Linked DNA regions of Homo sapiens: all the other regions are linked to region 3. Evidence: promoter capture Hi-C in human tissues and cell types (Jung and others, 2019). All regions are on one chromosome and are shown on one strand. The core of a region is centred on a gene start or on the middle of the fragment in contact, and the rest is flanking DNA. Distances in the headings are between cores, read along the strand shown. Region 1 overlaps CACNG3 (calcium voltage-gated channel auxiliary subunit gamma 3). Region 2 has its middle 110 kb from the start of CACNG3. Region 3 holds the start of CHP2 (calcineurin like EF-hand protein 2).

Region 1 (4,521 bases), core at 1,274-3,773, 520 kb before region 3:
TAGTACATTTTTCATCCCCAAACAGTGTGTGGTTGCACAATTAGAAATGACGATCCTTCATCCGAATGATGGGCGTTTTAAGGACGAAAACAACATTGCCCTTTTCCAAATTATGGTTGAGAACACAGGGCTAGAAACTAGTCAAGAGCTTCAAGCAGCAGCCCCAGGGCTGGAATGGAAATTAGCCAGAAACCATCATTTCAAATTCTAAAGGTCACCATTTATGAAAGGAAACTTTAATGTTCACTTAAAACCAGATGACAAGTCAGAAATGGAAGGAGAGAGGGCTGAAATGACGGTTACACACAACTGGCTTTCCACGACCCAATAAACTCTATCTGTGCCTAATTAGACTGGCAGTGACCTCCTGGTGTTGCATTCAGACTTTTAACATCAGTTCATCTGTCACACGGAACCTTAGCTAATGACCTTTCACCGGTTGCCTCTGTTAGAATTAGTGGTTGGAATGTACATGTTTGACTGTTTCCTGATCAAAAAAGCATAGCTCCATATATATGGAAGTAATTAGACTAGATATCCCTCATGAGTTCTTGGGCAGTGCATTCAGCGGCCCTTTTAACACCTCCACTTGAGTGTTACAAAGGAAGCTGCAAACTCAACACTTTTAAAACCAGACTCACCCTCTCCCCATCACTAAACTTTTCATCCTAAAGGGGATCACTGTCCATCCAAAGGTTAAAGGCAGAAACCTAGATGTGCCTTGAGCTCATTCTCTCTTACCTTTACATGCAACAGTCAGGAAATTAAGTTGATTCCAGCTTTCAAGCATCTACCAAAGTGATGGCCAATGAGTCCATCTCCCTTATATAGGATTCTATTATTGCTATGGGATTATTGCATTAATGTCTCTTAACCAGTCTGCAAATATTCCTCAGTTGGGCGAACTGGGTCACCCTTGTAGTTCCAGCACTCTGGGAGGCTGAGGCAGGAGGATTGCTTGAGCCCAGGAGTTCAAGACTAGCCTAGGCAGCATAGTGAGATACTCTCTCTACAAAATAATAATAATAATAAACAAAATTAGCCAGGTGTAGCGGTGCACCTCTGTAGTCCCAGCTACTCAGGAGGCTGAGGTGGGAGGATCACCTAAGCCCAGGAAGTCAAGGCTGCAGTAAGCCGAGATTGCACCACTGCACTCCAGCCCGGCCAACAGAGTGAGACCCTGTCTCAAGAAAAATAAAAATAAAACTATTCCTTTTCCATTCCCCAGTCCATGTCCCACACTTCCGCCAGAATGAGCCTCAAAAATGAAAACCTGATTACGTCAGATCTTTAATTTTCTATTTTAATCTTTCCAAAGAATTTCTGTTTCCCCTAGAATAAAGTCTTACTTAACGTGCCTCCCAAAGATCTGCATGACACGGCCCCTGTCTACTTCTCCAGTCTTGCCATTCTCCCCACTCAGCCCACTCCTGCTCCAGCCATTACTGTATGTTTTGGCTTCTGTCCTAGGCTCTCTTTATGCTCCATCTAGCCTCCAGACCTTGGTATTTGCTGTTCCCTTTTCCCGGGACAACAACCCATCCCTTCATCTCTCTAACTTTTGCTCATCTTTCAGCTCTTAAGAGGTAATTTTCCTTTTGGAAGATTTTTCTCCATTCAAGGAGTCAGCTTGGTAGATAAGAAGGAAAGCCATGGAGTTATATCATTTGAGTTCAAATCCTGTCTCAGATAATAGCTCCATGTGTGACCTTGGGCCAGTTACTTAACCTCTCTGTGCCTAAGGTTTTTAATCTGTGAAATGGAGATATGAAGGGTTGTTAAAAAGGGTCAGATGTAATCGTGTAAGTTATTTAGCATAGAAGCTGGCACATAAACTCTCAAACAGTGTTAGATTTTATTTATTTATTTATTTATTATTATTTTTAGACAGAGTCTCCCTCTGTCGCCAGGCTGGAGTGCAGTGGTGCAATCTCGGCTCACTGCAACCTCCACCTCCCAGGTTCAAGCAATTCTCCTGCCTCAGCCTCCCAAGTAGCTGGGACTACAGGCATGTGCCACCACACCCAGCTAATTTTTGTATTTTCAGTAGAGATGGGATTTCACCATGTTGGCCAGGATGGTCTCAATCTCTTGACCTTGTAATCCACCTGTCTTAGCCTCCCAGAATGCAGGGATTACGGGTGTGAGTCACTGTGCCCTGCCCAGTGTTAGATATTATTATTATTTTACTTGTTATGCATGGATGTTCCCCCAAGGCTCTGTCTTTGGTCCTATTTTCTTATTTTTTACAGTCTTATTGGAAGCTCTTATTCACATTCAAGATTCTGCCTTTTACCACTGATGATTTCCAAATGTGCATTTCCCAGATCATACCTCCTTCCACATCATACTACCTTCCATACTCCAAGGGTCTTCTCTCTCTAAAGTTATTGCAATAGCCCACTGGCTTATCTCCTGCTCCCTTCTTACGTCTCAAAAATCTGTTTCTACCTGGGACCTGACCACAGTTTAAAGTCATCAGTTAGCTAGGTGCTGTGGCTCATGTCTGTAATCCCAGCACTTTGGGAGTCCAAGGCAGAAGGATCACTTGAGCCAAGGAGTTGGAGACCAGCCTGGGCAACATAGTAAGATCTCCATCTCTATTTTATAAAAAGTAAACAACAACAAACAAATACCATACATACATCAATTTAGATCCTATTGCTCTTCTGCTTAAAACTCTTTCATGGCTTCCCTTTACTTTTTTTTTTTTTTTTTTGAGATGGAGTCTTGCTCTGTCACCCAGACTGGAGTGCAGTGGTGCAATCTCTGCTCACTGTAACCTCCGCATCCTGGGTTCAAGCGATTCTCCTGCCTCAGCCTCCTGAGTAGAGTAGCTGGGACTACAGGCATGTGCCACTACACCTGGCCAATTTTTGTATTTTTGGTAGAGACGGGGTTTCACCATTTCGGCCAGCCTGGTCTCGAACTCCTGACCTCAAGTGATCCGCGCACCTCGGCCTCCCAAAGTGCTGGGATCACGGGTGTAAGCCACCGCACTCAGCTCCCTTTACCTTTTGATCAGGATTCTCAACCTCGGTACTCCTGACATTAGGGACTGGGTAATGCTGTGTTGTAGGGGCTGTCCTGCGCATTGCAAGGGGTTTAGCGGCGTCCCTGATATCACCTGCTAGATCTGGTTGTGCTTCCCTGATCCCCCAACCAAAAGTGTCTCAGACATTACCAAATGTTCCTGTCGAGAGCTACTGCCTTAGTATAAACTCCAGATGCCGAATGATAATCCTCAAGGTCATTCCTAGGTCATATGCTGGTCCTGCTAGGCTGGAGTCAGTTCCACCCAAACCACATGGACTGAGGACAGGGTGACATGGCAACCCCTCCTTTGACCAGAAAAAGGAGGAATGGATGTGAGGTTGGCCAAACAACAAACAAAAACATTCGTGGCCACATAATCCAGCCTCCCTTCAAGTGCCCATTTCTCCATTTCCAAGAACCAAGCCCTGGCACTGGCCAAGATAAATGTTTGTTCAGTGATTGCCCACTAGACCCTTCCATTTCCCAAATTCTCCATCCTCACCCACAGTGTCTTTAATTATAGGTTAGAAGGTGGAAAATTTATACATTTAAATTCCAATCCACCAAAAACTTGGTCAAAAATCTCAGTTTTTTTGCACTTTGCTTCATCTCACATATGAAGAATATCACCACAGATCTCAACTTTTTGTGGAGTGGTGGCTAAGCTTTGTCAGTTTTCATGAACAAAGACACAAGATGCTATGAATCCTCCAGGCTCTGTCCAACTTTATATCAGCAGGGTTGCATTTTAATCAAAGACACCTTTTTCAGTGCCTGCTGAAATCTCATGTTGCCTCTTCCATCCCAGTGATGGTGGAACAATGACTTAGCTTAGCTGCAACTAAAGAGAAGTCAAAAAGATACCAGAACCCACCAAGGGACTGTTTCATTTCCCACTGGAGAAGAAAAGACAGAACTAGAAGGAAATCTTCTGATGAAAGTATGGAAATAGCTCTTTTAGTTTCTCTCCTCAACTATATGAAGTTAGTCAACAGAATTAAAATACAGCTGTAGCAGAGGCTCTCAAATTTTTTGGTCTTAGGACTCCTTTACACTTTTGCAAATTATTGAACTTTTGTTTATGTGGGTTGTATCTATTTAATATTTCCTATATCAGAAATTAAAACCCCCCTAAAATAGTGAAATAGTTATTTTAAAATTCATTTGAAAATAATGATAAATTCAATTGCATGTTAACATAAATATTTGTATAAAAATAACTATATTTTCCAGAACAAAAAATAGTGAGAAGAATTGTTTTTACGCTTTTGAAAATCTCTTTAATGTCTGGCTCAAGAGAAGAGAGATAGATTCTTATATCTGCTTTTGCATTTGATCTGTTGCCCACTGTTGTTAGACTTGAAGTTTATGAAGAAAACCTAGCCTCACACAAGTTTGACAAATAGAGCAGTATTTGAATAGCTTTTGAAATAACTGTGAATATTCTTTGATACTACACCAAAACTCGACAAGTGGTAGTTCCTT
Region 2 (4,483 bases), core at 307-2,806, 610 kb before region 3:
AAGGATGAACTCGAGTAAAGAATAAGAGGTGATCTACTTTAGAGAGTTGTTGAGGAAAGTCCTCTCTCAGGAGTGACTTGTCCAGCTCAGATCTGAAGGATGAGAAGGGGCCAGCCATGTAAAGAGATTGAAGACATTTCAATCAGTAGGAATGGCAGGTGCAAAGGCCCTGAGGCTTGAGCAAGGAACTGAAAAAAGGACAGCCTGACTGGAGTGCAGGTAGCAAGATGGAAGTATTAGATTGGCGCAAAAATAATTGCAGTTTTTGCCATTGAAAGTAATGGCACAGAATAAAGTTACTTTCGCACCAACTTAATGGCACAGAATAAAGTTGAATGGGTCAGCATGCTCCTGATAATGCAAGAACTTGGAGATCCTAGACAAATTTTGTTTTTTTTTTTTTTTTTTTTTGAAGAAGGAGTCTCCCTGCACCCAGGCTGGAGTGCAGTGGCGTGGCCTCGGCTCACTGCAACCTCCACCTCCCAGGTTCAAGCAATTCCCCTGTTTCAGCCTCTTGGGTAGCTGGAACTACAGGTGCCCACCACCATGACTGGCTAATTTTTTTTTTGTATTTTATGTAGAGACGAAGTTTCACCATATTGGTCAGGCTGGTCTTGAACTCCTGACTTCAGGTGATCCACCCGCCTCAGCCTCCCAAAGTGCTGGGATTACAAGCGTGAGCCACCATGCCCGGCCAAAAATTTGAATTTTATTTACGTACAATGAGAAGCCTTTACAGAGTTGTCTTCTCTTTACCAAGCAGTTTTTTTTGGTATAACTTTAACCTGCATTTGGCTGACTGTTGCAGCCCTAGCCTCATGGGTCCCTCATATCCTCTCTGTTCTGCTCCTTGTAGCCAACTGGTAATTGCCTTTTGTGTCTCTTAGTTAAGTCTCTTAGAGATCATCTGATTGGACCAGCTGACCTTTTGGAGTCTAGTTGCAAATCCTAGACCACTGGCCATCCTATGACTGGATTGGCTGGCCTTATATCAGGTGCAATCTTTGATCCAATCAGCTGTGACCAAGGACAGGTCCTGCCTTCCTACCAGGGACTGTAGATAAAGCAGGCAATGATACTCCAGAGATAAGATCTAGGAAACTAGCATTTCACTGGGTGCCTAACTTATTAAACTTCTGAAAATACATGTTAGGTAGTGTCTAATGTATTCCTGATTAAAACTGTCAAATGGCTTCTAAATGCACTTAGGGTCAAAACTCAACATCCTTAGCATGCCCTTAATGCTGCATCCTCTGGACCCAGCTTTCTTTCCTGTTCTCATCAGTGCTACTCTTCCTACACCTTACTGGCCTGTTTTGCTGTTGTTGTTTGCTTGGTTGGTTGTTTTTTGTTTGTTTGTTTGTTTTTGGTCTCTCCAGTCTCAGGACATTGCACATGCTGGTTTTTTTCCCCTAGACACTTTATTTATTCCCTTTCCTCGAATAACTCCCAATCTTGCTTTTGCTCTGATCCTAAATGTCATTTCCTCTTCTTTGATCTCCCCTCCACCAGCTAAATTAGAGGTCCCTGTTTATTTATTTATTATGTTATTTTATTTTATTTTTTGAGATACCGTCTGGCTGTGTCGCCCAGGCTGGAGGGCAGTGGCTTGATCTCGGCTCACTGCAACCTCCGCCTCCCAGGTTCAAGTGATTCTCCTGCCTCAGCCTCCTGAGTAGCTGAGATTACAGGCGTGTGCCACCACATCCGGCTAATTTTTGTATTTTCAGTAGAGGTGAATTTTCACCATGTTGGCCAGGCTGGTCTCGTACTCCTGACCTCAAGTGATCCACCCACCTCGGCCTCCCAAAGTGCTGGGATTACAGGTGTGAGCCACCGCACCTAGCCAGAGATTCCCATTTATATTTGTATTTTTTGCATTACGTTTTCCCTTCATGACATAGATCACAATTTTGAATGATGTTGATGTGTATGTTCATTTGTTCAGTGCTTGTCTCCTCCACTAGACTGAGACTTCCATGAGGACAGTGGTCATATCTTTTGGGATTATTACTCCTTCTGGCTGTCTTAGTCTGTTTTGTGTTGCTGTGAAGGAATCTCTGAGGCTGGGTAATTTATATATAACAGAGGTTTATTTGGCTCACGGTTCTGCAGGCTGTACAAGAAACATGGTGCCAGCATCTGTTCTGGTGAGGGCTCAGGAAGCTTTTACTCACAGCAGAAGGCAAGGGGAGCCGGCATATGCAGAGATTACATGGCAAGAGAGGAAGCAAGAGAGAGACAGAGGGGAGGTGTCAGGCTGTTTTAAACAACCAGCTCATGTGAACTAATACAGTAAGAATCCGCTCATTCCCAAGGGAGGGCATTAATCTACTCATGAGGGATCCACCTCTCTGACCCATCTGCCTCTCATCAGGCTCCACTTTCAGCATTGGGGATCAAATTTCAACATGAGGTTTGAAGGGGGTCAAACATCCAAACGATAGCACCAGCGCACAATAAGTGCTGAATGATAAGTGCTGAATAAATAAATGAATGAATAAATGGATGAATGCGCAGAAGTGAGAGATTGTGTGGCCCGAGGAGCCACAAAAGACTTCATGGTGCTGGGTGCAATGGGTCATGCCTGTAATCCCAATACTTTGGAAGGCCGAGGTGGGCAGATCACTTGAGGTCAGGAGTTTGAGACCAGCCAACATGGCAAAACCCCATCCCTAATAAAATACAAAAATTAGCCGGGAGTTTTAGTGTACACCTGTAATCCCAGCTACTTGGGTGAGTAAGGCATGGGAATTGCTTGAACCTGGGAGGCGGAGGTTGCAGTGAGCTGAGATTGTGCCGCCACATTCCAGCCTGGGCAACAGAGTGAGACTCTATCTCAAAAAAAAAAAAAAAAAGACTTCATGGAAAGCATGAGGCTTGACCTTGGCCTTGAAGGATGGATAGGATTTGGAGAGGGCAAGCGGAAACATTTCAGGTAGGGATAACCTTTATCAGCAAAGGCAGAGAATCGGGAGAAAGCCTGAGCTAGCCCAGGGTATAGTGTGGACACCAGCCTGATTAGTGCAGAAGCCTGTGCTGACAAGATCTGGAAAAGAAGATTGTCCAGGCAGAAAAGCACCCAAATGGGAAAAATGTAAATCTGTGAACTATATTAAATCACAATAGCTAACATCTATATGGTGCTTATGGTGTTTCAAGTTCTTTTCTAAGTGCGTTGTGAAGGTAAGCTCATTTAATCCTCACGATGAACTTACGGAGTAAGTGCTATATTTGTGCCCATTTTATGGACAGAGAAGCTGAGACAGAGGGTGACGATCTTGTCAAAGGTCTGTGGTTGATAAATACAGAGCTGGGATTCAAAGTCATTGGATTCAAAGTCAAAGGAATCAAACTCCGCAACTGTCCAGATCCAGTTGCAGAGTTTCCATGCTTGAATGTTGTGCAAGCTGCCTCTCTGTTCTCAAAAGGTAGAGGCATAACTTGGCAAAAACTCAGTTCCAGGGACTACACATTAAAGCAGCAGCAAAGAGAAACTCAAGGGTTCTGGTCCTGAGATTGGTGGAGGGATCTGCTGGTCCAGAAATTTGGTCCCTCAAATGCAGCTGGGAAAGGGAGCTGCATTTGAGGGAGAAGGAGATGGAGAACTCAGCAATGGAGCAAGAGATTCAAGCAGCATGGCCAGGAATGCTTAGTGAGGGGCTGCTGCATGGGCTTTCAAGTCAGGCAGACGTGGGTTTGTGTATCGACTTTGCTGTCTACTTGTAAGTTTCACCATCTTCACAATGGATTTAACAATCATACCTGCCACAAATATGAGAATTCAATGAGACAAGATGAGTGAAGTTCATGGCACAGTGTCTGACACAGAGGGTGGCGGCTTAGTGAATGGAAATAATCTTCCAGTGGATTTGGATGGCAAGGATAGGCCTGAATCCTGGCTGCAACCCAGAAGTGGTAATATTAATATCTATCTGATGCCAGCCAGCGGGGTTCAACTGAGCAGCTGTCAAGCAAAGGTATCCCGAGGCTCCTGTGCCAAAGCTTTTCAGGGAGCAAACCTAGATGGTGCGGTGGGGAGGCATGTGGGGTACAGAGGGAGTCCTTCCGGGGGTCACGTGGCCATTTCTCTCCTCTAGCACTCTGGCCTTTGCAGAAGGACTTTATTCTTGACTACCAGGGCTGATACCCCGCTAGTTAAGGCGCTGGGGCCTTTCTCTCCATCCCAGATCCACTTCCCCGATGCCCTGTTTTTGCACACTCCCAGTTCCCAGGGTGCCTGGATGCTGCTGCTTCCCCTTCACAGTGTTCTTCACATATTTGCTCCAGTTCTCAGATCCTTCCCTCTCCAAGGGTGGCTGGACCACTTGTCCCCAAGAGTAGGAGGAGATGCATGGCCCCTGAGCAAAGATGACATGCAAATTCGTGAAGCATTCCACAGTTTCAAATAGTTAATGCATTCAGGGCTTAAAACCTAGATGACGGGTTGCTAGGTGCAGCAAACCACCATGCAACATGTATA
Region 3 (4,115 bases), core at 192-2,691:
TCTCGCTTTCTGCCAACCTGCAGCATCTCATGCCTGGAGATCTTCCCATCGCGATCCAGGTCATAGAGCTGAAATGCATCTGGGGAGAGGGTGGGAGGGGGAAAGGAAGGTAGGTCTTCCCTGGCTCTCTTCCAGCAGCCACCTTCCTTCCCCCCACCTTGGAGGAGGGGGGAGGTTGTCAATGCCCTCAGGAAGGGAGTGGGAGATCCCTGGAGCCTGTCCCTGGTGTGGGTACATCTGCATTCTCACTTGTGCAGGTCCTCACAAACTCACAGTGAAGTTTGTTCCTTCTGCTGTTGAGAGGTTCAGGTTTCTTGGGGTCTTGGGTTTCTGTGTCCTCATCTTCTACAGGGCGAAAATGAGCCAAGACCCTGACAAAGCCTGGGAAATCCACTCGCTGGCTCCTGGGGAGACGGGACAGAATGGAAAGAGGTGGTGGTCACCTTGGCCATCACTTTGCCTCCGTCTCTAACCTCCCCTCCCACCCACTCACACACCGGTTTTCCCGCCTTCACCTCCCCACGCCCAGCAAGCCTCACCCATCGGGGAAGAAGCTTTCTATAATTCGGTCTCCCAGGGGGTTCACGGCGAGCGCCCCTATCTGCTGGAGATCCATGCGGCTGCAAAGCCAAATTTCAAAGAGGGTAAGGCAGAGATGCCAGACGGAGGGTCAAAGAGGGACATGGAGTCAGAGAGACAGAGGCCAGAAGTTATGAGGCCGGCTCCCCCTCACCTCAGGTAGCCCTTCTTATTCCTGTCCAGTGCCCGGAACCGGTGGTGCAGGCGGAGCAGGCTGGCTTGGGAGACTGCGGGAAGGAGAGTGGGGTGGGGGTGTGTGACTCTGCAGGGCCAGCTCCAGAAACCCGCCCCAACAGGCCAGGAAGATGGGCCAGAACAGCGGGGGCTGGCTGGAAGGGGCGATCATCCCGGGGAATCAGGGGTTGAGCTGGCCGGGGCGGAGGGAGAGTGACACGACCCCGCGAAGATCCAGGTTCAAGACCCGGGCGGCTCGCAACCTCCCGAAAACCAAAGAACCAAAGCCATCCCTTCCAACCGCCGTCAGCTCTGCCTTCAGCTTCGAGCCGGGCTGGAGGACACCTGGGTGCCTGGATTCCTCTGGACTCCGACCCCGTGAACCCGGATCCTCCCCAGACTTGGAGGCTGGGACCCCTAGGTTAACCCGCCCCTAACCCAGCGATCCCAGGCACAGGGGCCTTGGTCTTCCAGCTCCGGGGAGCCCCGGACCCCAGACTTGTAAGTTCGTCCATCCTTCAACCCAACCCCTTCCCTAGCCCCAGACGCCTGGGTTCGCCCCGTCCCCTCCGCAGCCGCCGACGCGGGCGCACTCACAGCCGGTCTCTCGCCGAATACTGTCCCCGTCGGGAATGACCGCGGCGTGGGAGCTGCGCGACCCCATGGCCGAGCTGGAGGCGGAAGGGCCGGAGCAGCCACCCGGACCCACGCGTTCTCTCCTCCCGCCGGAGAGGCGTGGCCGCCCCAGTGGCCCCAGGGGGACGAAGGCCACAAGCCTGGCGCGCGGCCAAGCTCCAGAACCCCGGCGTGCCTCTCCTCCCACCCGCGACCCGGGCGAATGGAAAACAATGTGCAGGGTGGCGGGTCAGAGGGAGGCTGCGAACAACGGGCTGTTTCAGCTCCGAGATTTTGCGATCCGCACGGGAGAGGCTGGTCGAGTCCCAGGCCCCGCGTTTCCACGCCTCCCCCGGGGCCGGTTCCCACGGTGCGCCCTGACACCTGAGCCACCTCCTCCTTCGCGGGCCCCGGGCGCTCCCAACCCCAGGGCGCTCCCCGGCGTCGACGCTGAGGAAGCCTGGGAGACCTGACCTCCTCTGTAGAGACCACGCCCTGCTGGAAGGCGGGTGGCCTATGGGGAGGGAATCCTGGGGGGAGGGGGGAAGAGGCATCGAAGAACTCCCAAAGACGGGGAAGTGGGGAGGGGCGGCGAGATGAAGGGTGTGCGTTAGGTTAAGTGGAAAGAGCACTGGTTTGGGAGTCCTTGTTGGAATCCCAGCCGTGCCCGTGACTCTGGGAAAGTCAGTAAATCTTGGTTTCATCCCTTTTGTTCGGTTCACATTGCCTTATTGTTGTTTAATTGAGCCAATGCTTAAAATTCAGGAGATTTAACCCAAAATCCACATTCTTGGCTTTTCCTGAGAAATCAGAAGTTCTATCACCACCAGGCCCAGAGCTGTCTTCTGGCCACAGTCCCTCCAAGCCCAATTCACTCCCTTAGGTACCTACTGATCCCGTAGAGCTCCAGACTGGGAATGACTTAGTCCTCTGAACAGCCCTCCAGAGCCATGGGACTCCTTGGCCCAAGAGAGGGTTACAGACATCACTGGGACTAGGCTTAAAGCAAGAATGACAACAAGGGCTCTTGTTTACCACGCTTTGCTAAGCACTTTACGTGCATCCGTTCACACATTCCTTGTAGGCCCTGCTGGGCTGCTTTCTTCTAATTTTACGTGGTGGAGGCTGCCGGGGGCAAGTTGTGAACTAATTATGTAAAGCGTGCATTCTCAGTGCGGTCTCTATCTCACCCCAACGGGGCAAAAAATAAAACATATTTTTTATGTACAAAGCACAGCATACATACAGCACATAAATAGATATACAGTATAGCTGTGATATTGAAATTTCAGGGCAGACGTGGAGGCTCATGCCTGTAATCCCAGCACTTTGGGAGGTAGAGGCAGGAGGATTGCTTGAGCCCAGGAGCTCAAGACCAGCCTAGGCAACATAGTGAGACCCCATCTCTACAAAAGAATACAAAAAAAAAAAATTAACCAGGTGTCGTGGCACATGCCTGTAGTCTCAGCTACTTGGGAGTCTGAGACAGGAGGATCACTTGAGCCCAGGAGGTTGAGGCTGCAGGGAGCCATGATCACGCCATTACACTCCAGCCTGGGTGACAGAGTGAGACCCTGTCTTGAAAAGAAAAGAGGCCGGGCGCGGTGGCTTATGCCTGTAATCCCAGCACTTTGGGAGGTCGAGACGGGCGGATCACCTGAGGTCAGGAGTTTGAGACCAGACTGACCAACATGGAGAAACCCAGTCTCTACTAAAAATACAAAATTAGCTGGGCGTGGTGGTGCATGCCTGTAATTCCAGCTACTCGGGAGGCTGAGGCAGGAGAATCGCTTGAACCCGGGAGGTGGAGATTGAGGTGAGCCTAGATCGCGCCATTGCACACCATCTTGGGCAAAAAGATCGAAACTTGGTCTCAAAAAAAAAAAAAGAAAGAAAATAAAATTTCATGGGGTAGGGGTGAGGGTGGGGAAATTAAAAAGACTAGGGGAGGCGTTGATAATGAAAAAAAAACAGGTCGAGAAACTCATTTGTCAAGGGACAAACACTAGAAGTGTCCACTTTTGAAAGTATCTTTAAACCGTTTCCCCCATCATAATTGCACATACATACACAAATTTCCCAGGGGGGAAAACATGCAAGCAGTTCATTGCAAGGGCTCAAGTTCATATCCACCCTGGAGAGAGAGAAGCTGAAGAAACAGTCTATCCTCCAGCCCCAGGCAGAGGCCTGCATCAGATAAGTCTTGAAAATATTGATCTAAGAAGTGCTTGCTTCTTTCAGATACCCCCAAGGATTAAGCAACTGGCATAAGGAATGCTTGATTCTCTTTCAGACTCCCCCCAAAGACTAAGCATGCGGGAAACCACACTCCTCCCTAATGAAGCCCAGCAATCACTGCAACCCACAGCTGTGAGTCAGGCTGTGCATGTAGTTTGGGTTCAGTTCTGAACCCAGGAGGAGATGAGAGCCCTAAGAAGCTGTGATAAGCACCGCAGGCCAGCTTGGGATGCTGATCTTGGAAAGGGCTTCTCCAGCCTTAATATTGGAGTCAGTGCTACACCAAAGTAAATTAGGCCGGAGAGTAATTAGGAACTCCCATGCACACATCATACACAAGCTTTTAAGAGAGGGCTGGACCAGGCACAGTGGCTCACACCTATAATGCCAGCCCTTTGGGAGACTGAGGCGGGCAGACCATGAGGTCAGGAGATTGAGACTATCCTGGCTAACACAGTGAAACCCCGTCTCTACTAAAAATACAAAAAATTAGCTGGGTGTGGTGGCAG

What was found. The method cuts DNA at HindIII sites, captures the fragments that hold promoters and counts their contacts. A contact is called where the count stands out against the background at its distance.
Region 1: a contact is called between a fragment that was not itself captured here and the fragment with the promoter of CHP2 in region 3, in 2 of the 25 tissues and cell types used here (dorsolateral prefrontal cortex and lymphoblastoid cells).
Region 2: a fragment that was not itself captured here is called in contact with the fragment with the promoter of CHP2 in region 3 in 2 of the 25 tissues and cell types used here (mesenchymal stem cells and spleen).

Annotation. Positions count from the first base shown.
Region 1 is chr16:24,275,978-24,280,498 of GRCh38, reverse strand. All of the region lies in intron 1 of CACNG3 (calcium voltage-gated channel auxiliary subunit gamma 3), which reads right to left. Among named protein-coding and RNA genes, the nearest start is that of CACNG3, 22 kb to the right of the region's middle. The HindIII fragment of the contact is 9,849 bases long and covers 1-4,521 here.
Region 2 is chr16:24,365,196-24,369,678 of GRCh38, reverse strand. No RefSeq gene overlaps it. Among named protein-coding and RNA genes, the nearest start is that of CACNG3, 110 kb to the right of the region's middle. The HindIII fragment of the contact is 3,061 bases long and covers 26-3,086 here.
Region 3 is chr16:23,752,352-23,756,466 of GRCh38, reverse strand. It overlaps CHP2 (calcineurin like EF-hand protein 2), which reads right to left and starts at 1,441. Exons shown (of 7, transcript NM_022097.4): 1 at 1,351-1,441; 2 at 734-806; 3 at 540-620; 4 at 274-404; 5 at 18-79. The coding sequence starts at 1,417. RefSeq lists an enhancer at 908-1,553. The HindIII fragment of the contact is 8,876 bases long and covers 1-4,115 here.